Regions from separate parts of the Homo sapiens genome. Here region 1 is linked to region 2. Evidence: promoter capture Hi-C in 16 types of primary human blood cells and fetal thymus (Javierre and others, 2016). All regions are on one chromosome and are shown on one strand. Each heading gives the region's core, a stretch centred on a gene start or on the middle of the fragment in contact. The rest is flanking DNA. Distances are from core to core; before and after follow the strand shown. Region 1 overlaps RABGAP1L (RAB GTPase activating protein 1 like). Region 2 holds the start of PRRC2C (proline rich coiled-coil 2C).

Region 1 (5,962 bases), core at 1,991-4,490, 3.5 Mb after region 2:
CAGAATTCAGCAACATGGTATTTAAGGACCTTTATGACCTGGCCACAGGGATCTCTCATCTCGCTCATTGTTGAATCGCTTTCTGCTTAAGCCATTTTAAATTCTTTGAAGTTATCTGAAGGTGCTATGTCTTTGCACATGGTGGTGTTCTCTTTGCTGAAATGTCATCCTCCCTCTTAAGTGATCAATCTATTTCTTCAGGTGGTTCAACCTAATAAAATTACTTAGCCAGCTTGGTAAACTTTTAATCATTTAAGACTCAGATCAAAACTATTTCTTTAACATTTTTAGTCAACAGTAAATACACAACAAATATTTACAATATGCCTATACTGGGCTAATTATTCTCAGAGGTTCTTAAGAGAGTGACAAGTTTTGTTTTTACATGTCTAATTAATATTAATGAAAAGGAATACGAAGAGTGGTTTATGGATGGGATGAGAAGGAAGCCAGTGAGTACTGAGAAGGTGACCCCTAGGGATTTGGCCTGGAATGGCAAGAGCTCAGACATGTCAGAGGAAGAAATTTTTTTTTTTTTGAGACGGAGTCTTGCTCTGTCGCCAGGCTGGAGTGCAGTGGCGCGATCTCGGCACACTGCAAGCTCCGCCTCCCGGGTTCACGCCATTCTTCTGCCTCAGCCGCCTGAGTAGCTGGGACTATAGGTGCCCGCCACCATGCCCAGCTAATTTTTGTATTTTTACTAGAGACGGGGTTTCACCATGTTGGCCAGGATGGTCTCGCTCTCTTGACCTCGTGATCCACCCACCTTAGCCTCCCAAAGTTGTGGTATTACAGGCATGAGCCACTGCACCTGGCCCAAGAGGAAGAAATTAATGGTCAGCTGGACATGGGATGAAAGAGGAGCTAATGAAAAGATGATCCAAAGTCGTCAGGCCCAAATGGTGGAGACATGCCCAGTGGCACAAAAGTGTGGTGGAGAGTTGCTTTTTGTGTGTGTGAAGAGAGGAGGATGGGCACGGTGATGGACACATTGAGCTTGTAGCAGTAGGGCATCAAAGTAGAAATAGCATGTAATATCTTTTATCTCTATTGAATTATTTTTGAAAATAAGTAAACAACAGTACTATTGTCTGGAAAACAGTTGCTGTTGTTTAGTGCTGTGTGCCCGATTGGCAATGCGGGCATGTGGTAGAGTTATTTTATTTTATTTTTATTTTTTGAGATGGAGTCTCATTCTCTCGCCCAGGCTGGAGTGCAGTGGCGCGATCTCGGCTCACTGCAAGCTCCGCCTCCCGGGTTCAAGCGATTCTCCTGCCTCAGCCTCCCGAGTAGCTGGGACTATAGGCGTGTGCCACCATGCCTGGCTAATTTTTTGTATTTTTAGTAGAGACGAGGTTTCACCGTGTTAGCCAGGCTGGTCTCAATCTCCTGACCTTGTGATCTGCCTGCCTTGGACTCCCAAAGTGCTGGGATTACAGGCGTGAGCCACCAGGCCCGGCCGGAGTTACTTTTATTAAGCAACAGGGGTCCTCTTTGCTTAAAATTCAACAACAGGACATGTGCTTTGTTGCAAGGGTAGATTTAGGTTAGTCATGATGACCTTCCTCAGTCTACTACAGGCAAGTTCTTTAAACTCTGAGTTTCTTTATGAAATGAGGATGATGATAGTGCTTACTTATACAGTTGCTCTAGGATTAAGTGAAATACTACAAGTAAAGCATTTGGTGTGGGGCTTGGCATCTAGTAAGAATAATGATAGCATAAAATTTCTAGAACAGATTTCAAAGAGATGCTACAATACCTTCTATTTCTAGGGTATTTCTAGAGATACTTCAGGAAAAAGGAGCACCCGTCTTGGATAGTTGGGTTCGGGCTAATGATTTTGATTGCAGCACAAGAAAAATAATTAACCTTCAGAAATGGGCCTGCATCTATGACAATAAGCAGCATCTAAAAAAGTCATAAATTGTTTCAGAAGGTGATTTAGCCTATGGAATAGTTTGATGTTGGTTATCTCTTTTGGATACTTTAGGGTAAGATGATGGCATGCAAACACTGCAGTGACATTTTCAGCAAGGAGGGTGCTTTGAAACTAGCAGCCACAGGCAGAGAGGACCAGGGAATTGAAACAGATGATGAGAAGGACTCACTTAAGAAGCAGCTGAGAGAGATGGAACTGGAACTGGCACAAACCAAACTGCAGTTGGTGGAGGCCAAGTGTAAAATTCAGGTTGGTGATTTGATAAAAGAACAAGAAGAAAGAATAAACAATTAATGGTCCAGGATACTCTAGTACTTCAGAATACACCTATCTAGGTCAGAATTGTATGATGAATACATTTTCTGTCTGCTAATGTGTCCTGCATAATCACATTTTATATCATGTATTCTTAACGCTGATATAAACAAATATATAATTTTAAATGAAATTTTAATAATTAAAATTATATCTTATGGGAATTTAATTAAGCATATGCTTGTTTTTTTTACCCTGAGATTTTTTGCTTACATCCTTTCTCACAGAATGTGGTCACTTCAGTGGCTGATCCTGAAAATGAAAAACCAAACCCCCTCTGCTGTGTCTACCCTGAGAGTCACACATTGGCTGACACCCGTTCTTTCCTTTAGAGCTTCTTTTTATCTTTAGCTCATTTTGTCAAACCTCTTTCCCCATTATCTTTCTCCATATTGGCGCATAATATAATTAGAAATAGTCCTGGCTTCTGATGGACTCTTCTTCATTTCATTTTCCCAGTGATCCCTACCAGCACCATGGCTGCCATGTCACCAGCCTCCACCACACCAGCCAGCTTCCACCATGTGTCTGCTCTGACCTTGGACATTCTTAGGGCAAAGCCTATTTCTTTGGAACTGGAATTCATTCATGCTTCTACTATCAGTAAAAATTCATCCATATGTTTACATTTATTTGTGGTTTTTAAACCTGTTATATCGGATTGCAACCTAAACCTAAATTTGGACCTAACTTGCAGGGAAAAAAAGAATAAAATGAGCTTTTCTTTCACTGTTTAAAGAAAGCACAGATTCTAGATTTTTGATAAGTCTTTTAGCTCTTAACTTTATCCTTGTACTAAGAAGCCAATTCAATCTCTCCTGGGTTTTGTGGGAGGAAAATTGGCAGCACATACCTTGAGACTCCAAAAAGCTGCACACTTTTATTTATTTATTGGCAAAGAGAAAACATTTATTTAACTCAGATGATTTTCTTGCTTTAATTAGGAACTTGAACATCAGAGAGGAGCCCTTATGAATGAAATCCAAGCTGCGAAAAACTCTTGGTTTAGCAAAACCCTGAACTCTATCAAAACGGCCACGGGCACCCAGCCATTGCAGCCAGCACCGGTCACCCAGCCACCCAAGGAGAGCACATAGTTCCAGCCTTACCCAAGCACAAGAGCACAATGTTCAAACCAATGGAAATCTGGGAGGATTCTTCCTGGTGTCCCTTTGAAGGAAAGTCAAGGAGGCCAGAAAACAAGCCAGAATTTTTCAGTAGCTCTCACTCTTTCTTGTATGACACTTTTCAAAGGGATGCTATTTAAACTGACCTGTTCTATGTTGAATACCTATTTTCCAGCTTCTGGAAGGCCATGTTCAGATCCATCATAGTATTACACATTATTTTGTTTGCCTGATGTTTAGTTGGAAATAAGTAATTCAGAACTAAATGCTTTTTTATTTAGAATTATTCATAATTATTTTTATCTTACATAAAAATGGAGACATCTGTTATTCCAAGGTTGAAGTGATAAGAAGATCTTTGTCACAGGAAAAAAAAAATTGAAACCTAAACATCTTAAGTTTTCAGGATTTATTCAGATAAAGCACACTGTGGGGCCAGGCATGACCACTCTCAGGTTTCCTCCTGAGCCTGATTCCCAGGGAAGTGTTAATCCTGTCCAAAGGAAAGAACCAATCAGCGATCATTGGTTTACTTTCATTTTCTGTTCGGTACATCTGGAAATGAAGTGCCAGGAATAGACGGGCTGTTCAGATTATACGCTAGGTAAAAGGAACTGAAATTTTAATAAGTGTAGGTCAGGATCATTTGGGCTGTGGTATTCTAACAGATCCTTTTAAGAATGCCACATAGGACTTGTGAGTTCCTAAGTACACCAAAGTATGGACACAGATGTGACTTCTGGCAATTATAAAGTTAAAGGTGGATATTGCACCTTACAGACTTAGGGAGCCTTTACCAGAGACGCCTAAAAAGCCCCAGGTTCAGCCATTGTGCTGAATAGAGTGGAATATAGAACCAGGGACAGAGTATTTCATTTAACGTTGATATATACTTGCTAAGGAAACACTAACAATACTGTAACTTTGTTAAAGGACATAGTATTGAAATGGGAAATAGAGGTCAGGCTCACATCATCTTAGTTTAATGCTGGGCAACTTTTTCTGATTTCTGTAGTTCCCTGAAAATGTGTCCTTCGTACCCATAAAGAGATACAAATGCATTTGTAACATTTTTGATTGAATATAAAACCTTTACAGAAATACTTATCTCATGGAAAGGTAAAGCTATTGTTTAAAAATTAGTGGAAATATTTTTTCAATTATATTTAACATGCCTATAAAAATAGTCCTTGCAGGAAATTATTTGATAAGAGCAAAACTATTTTTATTTTATAAACTATTTTGGAGGCCTCTGATCCTTTCAAACCAACCAAACTACTATTAGATATGTACAATAACATTTGTTGATATTAATCATTGGCCTCATTGTTGAACATATTATTTGCAAAGAATCTTAAACTCTGTAGTGCCAGAATGATTCTCATCTGTGCCATATTTTGCAATTAAAAGTAACACACCCTTAGAAGAATCAAATAAGAGCCATCTACATCCCAGGAGGATGCACCAAGTTGCTCACAGTGGATCTTTTCCTCTAAAATGATCTTTTATGTTCTAAAAAGTGAAATCCCCTTTATCTGTGTTTATATTCTCTACAGCCCATAAAACTGATGTGATTGTTATGTTATACTCATCAGATAATACTTTTCTTACATAAATCTTTCATTGTTGTTCTGACATCTTTCATTACAAAATTTATTTTCTTAACAAAAAGGAACATAACCCAGCATTCCAAGTGTCTGTGTTGGCTTTAACATTCTCTACATGGTGGTCTAGATAAGCTAATTTTTTTTTTTTTTTTTTTGTAAAATGTAATAGCTAGAAAATGTTATCTTGGCGCTTGTTTTTGTAAATCATTTAGTATAGGCTGTTAGCTTTACTGGTACTTTACGCTTTGATTCCAAGAAGCCTTGTGCAGTTGCCTTATCAAATGGCCAGCTAAATTAAAGATGCTCTTTTGTGTTGTGAATTTCATAGTTCTGTACAGAGCTTGTTTCAATTTACAAAAATAAGTACATTCCACAGAATGCCTAAAGTGTGTAATTTTCTTTAAATAATAGTAGGTGAGGGAGAAACATAATGGCTCTAGGTCAATCCCTTATCTAAAGACCTTGTTCAACTTCATAGTCCCTTTCCTTTTAAAGAGGAGAAGAGAAAAATCCCCCCTGGCCAGGCATGGTGGCTCACATCTGTAATCCCAGCACTTTGGGAGGCTGAGGTGGGTGGATCACCTAAGGTCAGGAGTTTGAGACCAGCCTGGCCAACATGGTGAAACCCTATCTCTACTGCAAAATACAAAAATTAGCCGGGCTTGGTGGCGGGTGCCTGTAATCCCAGCTACTCGGGAGGTTGAGGCAGGAGAATCACTTGAACCCAGGAGGCAGAGGTTGCAGTGGGCCAAGATTACGGCATTACATTCCATCCAGCCTGGGCGACAAGAGCAAAATTCCGTCTCGAAAAATCACCAGGTACATACCTCTCAAGTTTGATAAGTCCATCTTTTGAGTTTTCTTTTAGCTCTTTCAAAAGATTACGAGGGCAATACATATTTTTTTTTTTTTTATTCTCCAGCCCCATATCATACTTGGGTATGCCTGTTGGTACCATAAGCCTAAACTCT
Region 2 (5,910 bases), core at 1,486-3,985:
TTTTCGGGACAAAATTCTCCTGTTGTGAAGATAGATGACTCAAGAAAAGTCTATACATATAACTCCACTTGTTCAGAATATGTGCTCATCAAGCAACCTTCTGATAATGCCTTGGTTTCCTGAGTAGGTTTGGCTACACAGAAAATGCACTCAGCGGGGCCAGGCACAGTGGCTCACACCTGTAATCCCAGCACGTTGGGAGGCTGAGGCAGGCGAATCACATGCGGTCAGGAGTTTGAGACCAGCCTGGCCAACATGGCGAAACCCCATCTCAACCAAAAATACAAAAATTAGCTGGGCGTGGTGGCGCCTTTGTGTAATCCCAACTACTCGGGAGGCTGAGGCAGGAGAACCGCTCGAACCTGGGAGGTGAAGGTTGCAGTAAGCTGAGATTACGCCACCTGGACAACAGAGTGAGACTCCATGGGGAAAAAAAAAAAGAAAGAAGGAAGGAAGGAAGGAAGAAAAGGCAGGCAGGCAAGGAAGGAAGGAAGGGAGGGAGGGAGGGGAGGGGAAGGGAGGGAGGGAGGGAGGGGAGGGGAGAAGGAGGGAGGGAGGGGAGGGGAGGGGAGGGAAATGAGAAAATGTACTCAAGAAAAGATAGCACCTTGGGTCCATGCTGGCATACCGGAGGCTTTCTGTTTCTGGCAAAAATTAAAAGAAAAAAAGAAAAAAAAAGTATTGGCTTTGCAGTTGTTGAGTGTTCAGGTGTATAAATTAAAGCTCTTAGAAATTAATAATTTAATACATGTCTTTTTTTTTTTTTTTTTTTTTTTGAGACAGAGTCTCGCTCTCTCGCTCTGTTGCCCAGGCTGGAGTGCAGTGGCAGGATCTGTGCTCACTGCAAGCTCCGCCTCCTGGGTTCACGCCATTCTCCTGCTTCAGCCTCCTGAGTAGCTGGGACTACAGGCGCCCGCCACCACGCCCGGCTAATTTTTTTTTGTATTTTTTAGTAGAGACTGGGTTTCACCGTGTTAGCCAGGATGGTCTCGATCTCCTGACCTTGTGATCCGCCCGCCTCGGCCTCCCAAAGTGCTGGGATTACAGGCGTGAGCCACCGCGCCCGGCCATACGTGTCAGTCTTATGACCTTGGTTAATGTAATTTCATCTGATTGCTGAAGTTGTTCTCCATTGCTCAAGACAGATGATTTGGCTGGGCGTGGTGGCTCATGCCGGTAATTCCGGCACTTTGGGAGGCCAATGCGGGAGGCTTGCTTGAGCTCAGGAGTTCGAAACCAGCCCAGTCAACATAGCAAGACCTCGTCTCTACTGGCAAAAAAAAAAAAAAAAAAAAAAAAAAGCCAGGTTTTGTGGCAAGCACCTGTAGTCCCACCTACCTGGGAGGCTGAGACAGGTGGATTGCTTGAGCCTGGGAGGTTGAGGCTTCAGTGACCTGTGATTATGCCACTACACTCCAGCCTGGGCAGCAAAGTGAGACCCTGCCTCCAAAAAAACAAAGAAAGATGTTTCTGTGACCAGGACACTATAGACCAGATCCTAGAAGGTTGTAGAAATTCACTAAAGTAATGCTTCCTTGTCCTCTTGTGGATGATCAGTAGGCTTTCCCCTGGCAATGACCCTATATCAATAAAAAAACTTTTTCTTTTCTTCTTTTCTATTTTTTCGAGAAAGAGTCTCGCTGCAGCCTCAACCTCCTGTGCTCAAGTGATCCTTTTGCCTCCAGCCTCCCAGGTAGCTAGGACTATAAGCATGTGCCACTATGCCTAGCTAGCTTTTTTTCTTTTTAATTTTTTTGCAGAGGTAGGGTCTCACTATGTTGCCCAGATTGGTCTTGAACTCCTGGTCTCAAGCAATCCTTTTGCCTTGACCTACCAAAGTATTAGTATTACAGGCATGAGCCACCAAGCAAGTCCAGACTTTTCTACTTCAAATTAATATTAGTGGGGAGGGAGGTGTTCATAATTTACCTCTCTTTATTATTTCATTTATTCTAACATTGCTACAGTGACAATTCCATGGACATACACCAGCTACTGGCGGGGAAGATCGTTCAGACCAGAAGTGGTAAGAAATCCTTGAATTTTAAATATGTCATAGGTAGTTCACAAAGAGGACAAAAGATACCATTTACTAAACATTCGCCATCTGTTCTGACATAATATTATCATCATTGTAGTCTCCCACTTCCAGATACACTCATCTGCCTATGTTACACTTGCCTAGTAAAAGCCAGCATGGGTGAATCTTACTATTCAACGGAGCTGAACACTGTGATGGAGAGATCATATAAATAAACTGAATGGCTTATCTCACATCCATAATTAGAAACTTAAAAAGTGCTCTCAGCAGCCCATGCTACTCTGTTCCTCACACTAGTTTTACTTTCACTCTCTGTGATAACTTTTCAATACACCAAGACTTCTCAGCTTGCCCCAAATTCACTGAGACATACTGGCGAACTGCTGGTTCAACCATTTACACATCCACCCACCAGACATAAGAGTGCTCATTTCACTGAGGCTTATTATCAACTTGTAAACGTGGTCAATTCAAGACTTCTTAGAAAGGTCTCAGGTCCAAGCTTTGTCCTGAAAAGATAATTCTGATTGCAGAAACTCCCTCCGTCCAGCAGGAAGCGCCAGCACCCTCTGTCGGGGTTGGGCCGCCACGGAGGCTTCACGTGATCCGGCCGTCTCTGCGCAGGAGTGTGGTCTTGCGGAGATTTGACCTACGTACTTAGCGTCATGACGTAGTACGTAGGGGCTGGCTAGCCGCCATCTTGCTTCTTTTTCTCGCTCGCTCGCTCCCCCTCGGAAAGCTGCGAAAGTGCTTTGGCGGTTTGTCCATCCGCAGCTTCGGCTTTTCCAGTCTGGTGGCCCTTCCGGCCACCCCTTTAACCCCAGCTTTCCCTCCCCCTTCTTTCGATCAGAGATCGGCGGAGACCCTCGAAGTGCGCAAACTTGACACTCACCCTGACCGGTAAGGAAAGCGAGGGTGTGGGGGCCGCGATCAAAGAGGGCCCCATCGGGAACGGCCAGAGTGCGGCCTGGGGCGTGGGAGCGCACCCAGACCCTGGCGCCCGGAGGCTAGGGGGCCGCGTGGAGAGGGCCTTGGGTCCGGGCATTTCCCTTCTGTTTGGTTACCATCATCTCTGTGTCTGGGGAAGTCGGCCTCCAGCTTGGGGAGCGGGAAACCGGAGTCAGACCCGCCCCATGTGGTCTGCAGCGGGAGTTCTGGACCGGTCTGTCTTGCTCCCACCTAGACCCCAGTCCTGGCCCTGCGAGGGGATTACGCATGTTGCCGGGTAAGCGAAGGGGGTTTCCGTCTTCCTGGACTGGCGGACGTGAAGTCTTTTTTTTTTTTTTTTTTTTTTAGTGTCGGGTATGCGTTTCCCCAAACAACTGAAGGACTCAGCCGGGGCTTTCACTGTCTACCTCTTCCTGTGTAGTGAGGGTGGGACTTGCAATGAGCAATGTATGGGAGGGTCTGGTTTAAAGACCTGGTTAGATGAGAGGCTCTTCGGGGAATCAAGACCAACCCTACTTCCGCTAGGGAAGTGCTGCCCAACTCCGGAGGAGGATTTGGGTAGTCTTTTCACACTCTAGGCCGCTCCATCCTCTAACTTGCGTGGTGAATCTCGGTAGCTCCCTGTCTTTGAGATAGCGTTGATATTGGTGGTGTCAGGGTAAAGGCCCCGTTTTAGGACTGAAGAAAAGGGCATGGGGCCACTATAGAGACATTGATAGAGTCTTCCTTCCTTTGCATGAGAGGAGTACCTTTAATTTAAAGGGATGTATGTGTGTTTTGACATTATTTGGGATCTTTTGAGGGTCTGACATGCCTGATGTTTGCTGGCTTATAAAGCTACCTGGATTTCCGCATTGGCTGGTTTTCAGCCTGGGTTCATAGATTCATACCTCGTTAGAGTACTTAGAATTGTACAGTAGGCGGCTCTGCTGTAAGATTTTCATTTGGAATGCACCAGAAGAATCGGAGGATTTTTTGATTGTTGAGTACTTAATAGCTTACTCCTGCAAATAAAAATAATAGGGTGATACTAAGCACCTACCAAGCCTAACCCCACCATTTTTCAAAACTAGATTTCACCTCCCATATTGGTAATTAAGATGCTGCTTTGACTGGAGCCATTTTTAGGTGTGTGTCACAGATGCACTGCAGCATCTTTTCTGGCTCACCCCAAATGCATTGATCCCCTAAAAAATTAGGAATAAATTGAACTTGAATTTTGTCTTTAGCATGTAGTCAAATAGTAATTCTCTCCTTTTCTGTAAGTGGATTTTCAGAATATAGCCTTTTTAAGTGATTGTGTTTGCTCTGCTTAGCTTATGTGTGGCTGTTCTCCATTAGGTGACCTTTTGCTATACACTGAGCACAGTAATAAGTCCTTTTCATACATTTTTTTTTTAATCTCCACAACAGACCTTTGAGAAAAGTGCTATTAAGATCATCCCCATTTTACAGATGAGGAAATGAAATCTGAGAGAGTAGTCTGACCAAGGTCACATAGCAGTTATTGGTGGTATTGTGTAGGTTCAATTCCATACTGTCTGAACCCAAAGGGGATGCTCTAAACCTTCAACCTGCTTTTTAAATTATAAACTACAGTAACTAAATAAGATAAAGCATTATTAACTAGTAGTTTTTCTTTAGCTTGACTAGTATATGAATATTGTTGCATGCTAAGGTTAAAGTTTTGAAAGTTGTAAAAATGGAATATATCCACTTTGGACTTGGGGTAGAGGCTAATTTTTTTGTGTCCTTTTCTATTTGAGTGCTTAGAGATAACTTAAAACTAACTCTACCATGTCGTAGATATAATTTTTAAATTTAGGCGTCTGATCTATATTATTGGTAGAATATTCCCTCATCTGTAAAATGGTGATGATAATAGGACTTCCCTCAGAGGCTTTTATAGGAGTAAAAAAAGATAATGGATAATGTATGTAAAGGGCTTATTACTATGCTTAGTGCATAGTAAAAGGTCAACTAATAGTGGAGGGAGAATGGTAGGATATTGGTAGAAGAAAATACTCTCTTCCAAGCAATAAATAATCTGTAAATTCTCAGGGTGATGTATATATTTCTTTAGGTACATAAGAAAATTTCACCTCCCCTTATCCCTGATATGTCTACTTATATGCAGGATTTTGCTTCTTAGCGATTTCTTTATGCTCTACAGTAAATATCCCTGGGATGAGTATCTTGTTCATAGCTGAAAATGCAGAAGTTCTGGCTCATTCCAGCCCCCTCTCTTCTTCTTACCCCCACCCCACCCTCTTTAGTGATAAAATGTCTTTGAAGATTATATTATATCCCTGTCTGCCTCCAAGTGCCACCCCTAAACACTACTTCAGTTTGTTAGTTAGGTAACTTGTGTTTTGGATGCTATTTATGTCATATTTGTAAATGACAAGAATTGATCATTGGTAAAATGTTACATAAGTTAGTACAGAATTGTATTCTTACAGTGAAGGACATACAAAAATTGTGTCTGAGTTATGACACACTTTCATTTCGGTAAATCGTGATTTTGTCACCTTATGAATAGGACAACACAATGAAAGCTTATCTCAGTCTATGTTAATTGTTGCTTACAAGTCTGAGAGTTACTGTGTTAGTTTTATGAGTAATAACATTTTAAATTCCTCGCTAATCTCATCGATGCATGAGCCAGAACACCTTTGTGGATAAAAGCGTTCTATAGAGAGGGTAACTTTAGTAAATTTTCTATTTAAGAGACAGACCTAACTCTGTTGCCCTGGCTGGCCTCCAACTCCTGGGCTCAAGAGAATCTCCTGCCTCAGCCTCCCAGGTAGCTGGGACTAGAAGTGCCTACCATTGCTCCCAGCATTGCCAGTTACATTTCTAGTCCTTATTTTCCTCCAGATTATCAGAAAGCATGTTTTGGGGCCTGTGACTACATGTAT

Evidence for each region. Contacts are between HindIII fragments. The CHiCAGO score rates a contact against its expected background, and 5 or more counts as called.
Region 1: a fragment that was not itself captured here is called in contact with the fragment with the promoter of PRRC2C in region 2 in 1 of 17 cell types (total CD4 T cells); the score reaches 5.3 in total CD4 T cells.

The regions. Positions count from the first base shown.
Region 1 is chr1:174,986,648-174,992,609 of GRCh38, forward strand. RABGAP1L (RAB GTPase activating protein 1 like) reads left to right here. Exons shown (of 26, transcript NM_001366446.1): 25 at 1,994-2,191; 26 at 3,202-5,962. The coding sequence ends at 3,354. Among named protein-coding and RNA genes, the nearest start is that of CACYBP, 10 kb to the right of the region's middle. The HindIII fragment of the contact is 8,943 bases long and covers 1-5,962 here.
Region 2 is chr1:171,482,795-171,488,704 of GRCh38, forward strand. It overlaps PRRC2C (proline rich coiled-coil 2C), which reads left to right and starts at 2,736. Exons shown (of 35, transcript NM_001387844.1): 1 at 2,736-2,941. RefSeq lists enhancers at 2,325-2,634, 2,541-3,289. The HindIII fragment of the contact is 3,004 bases long and covers 2,542-5,545 here.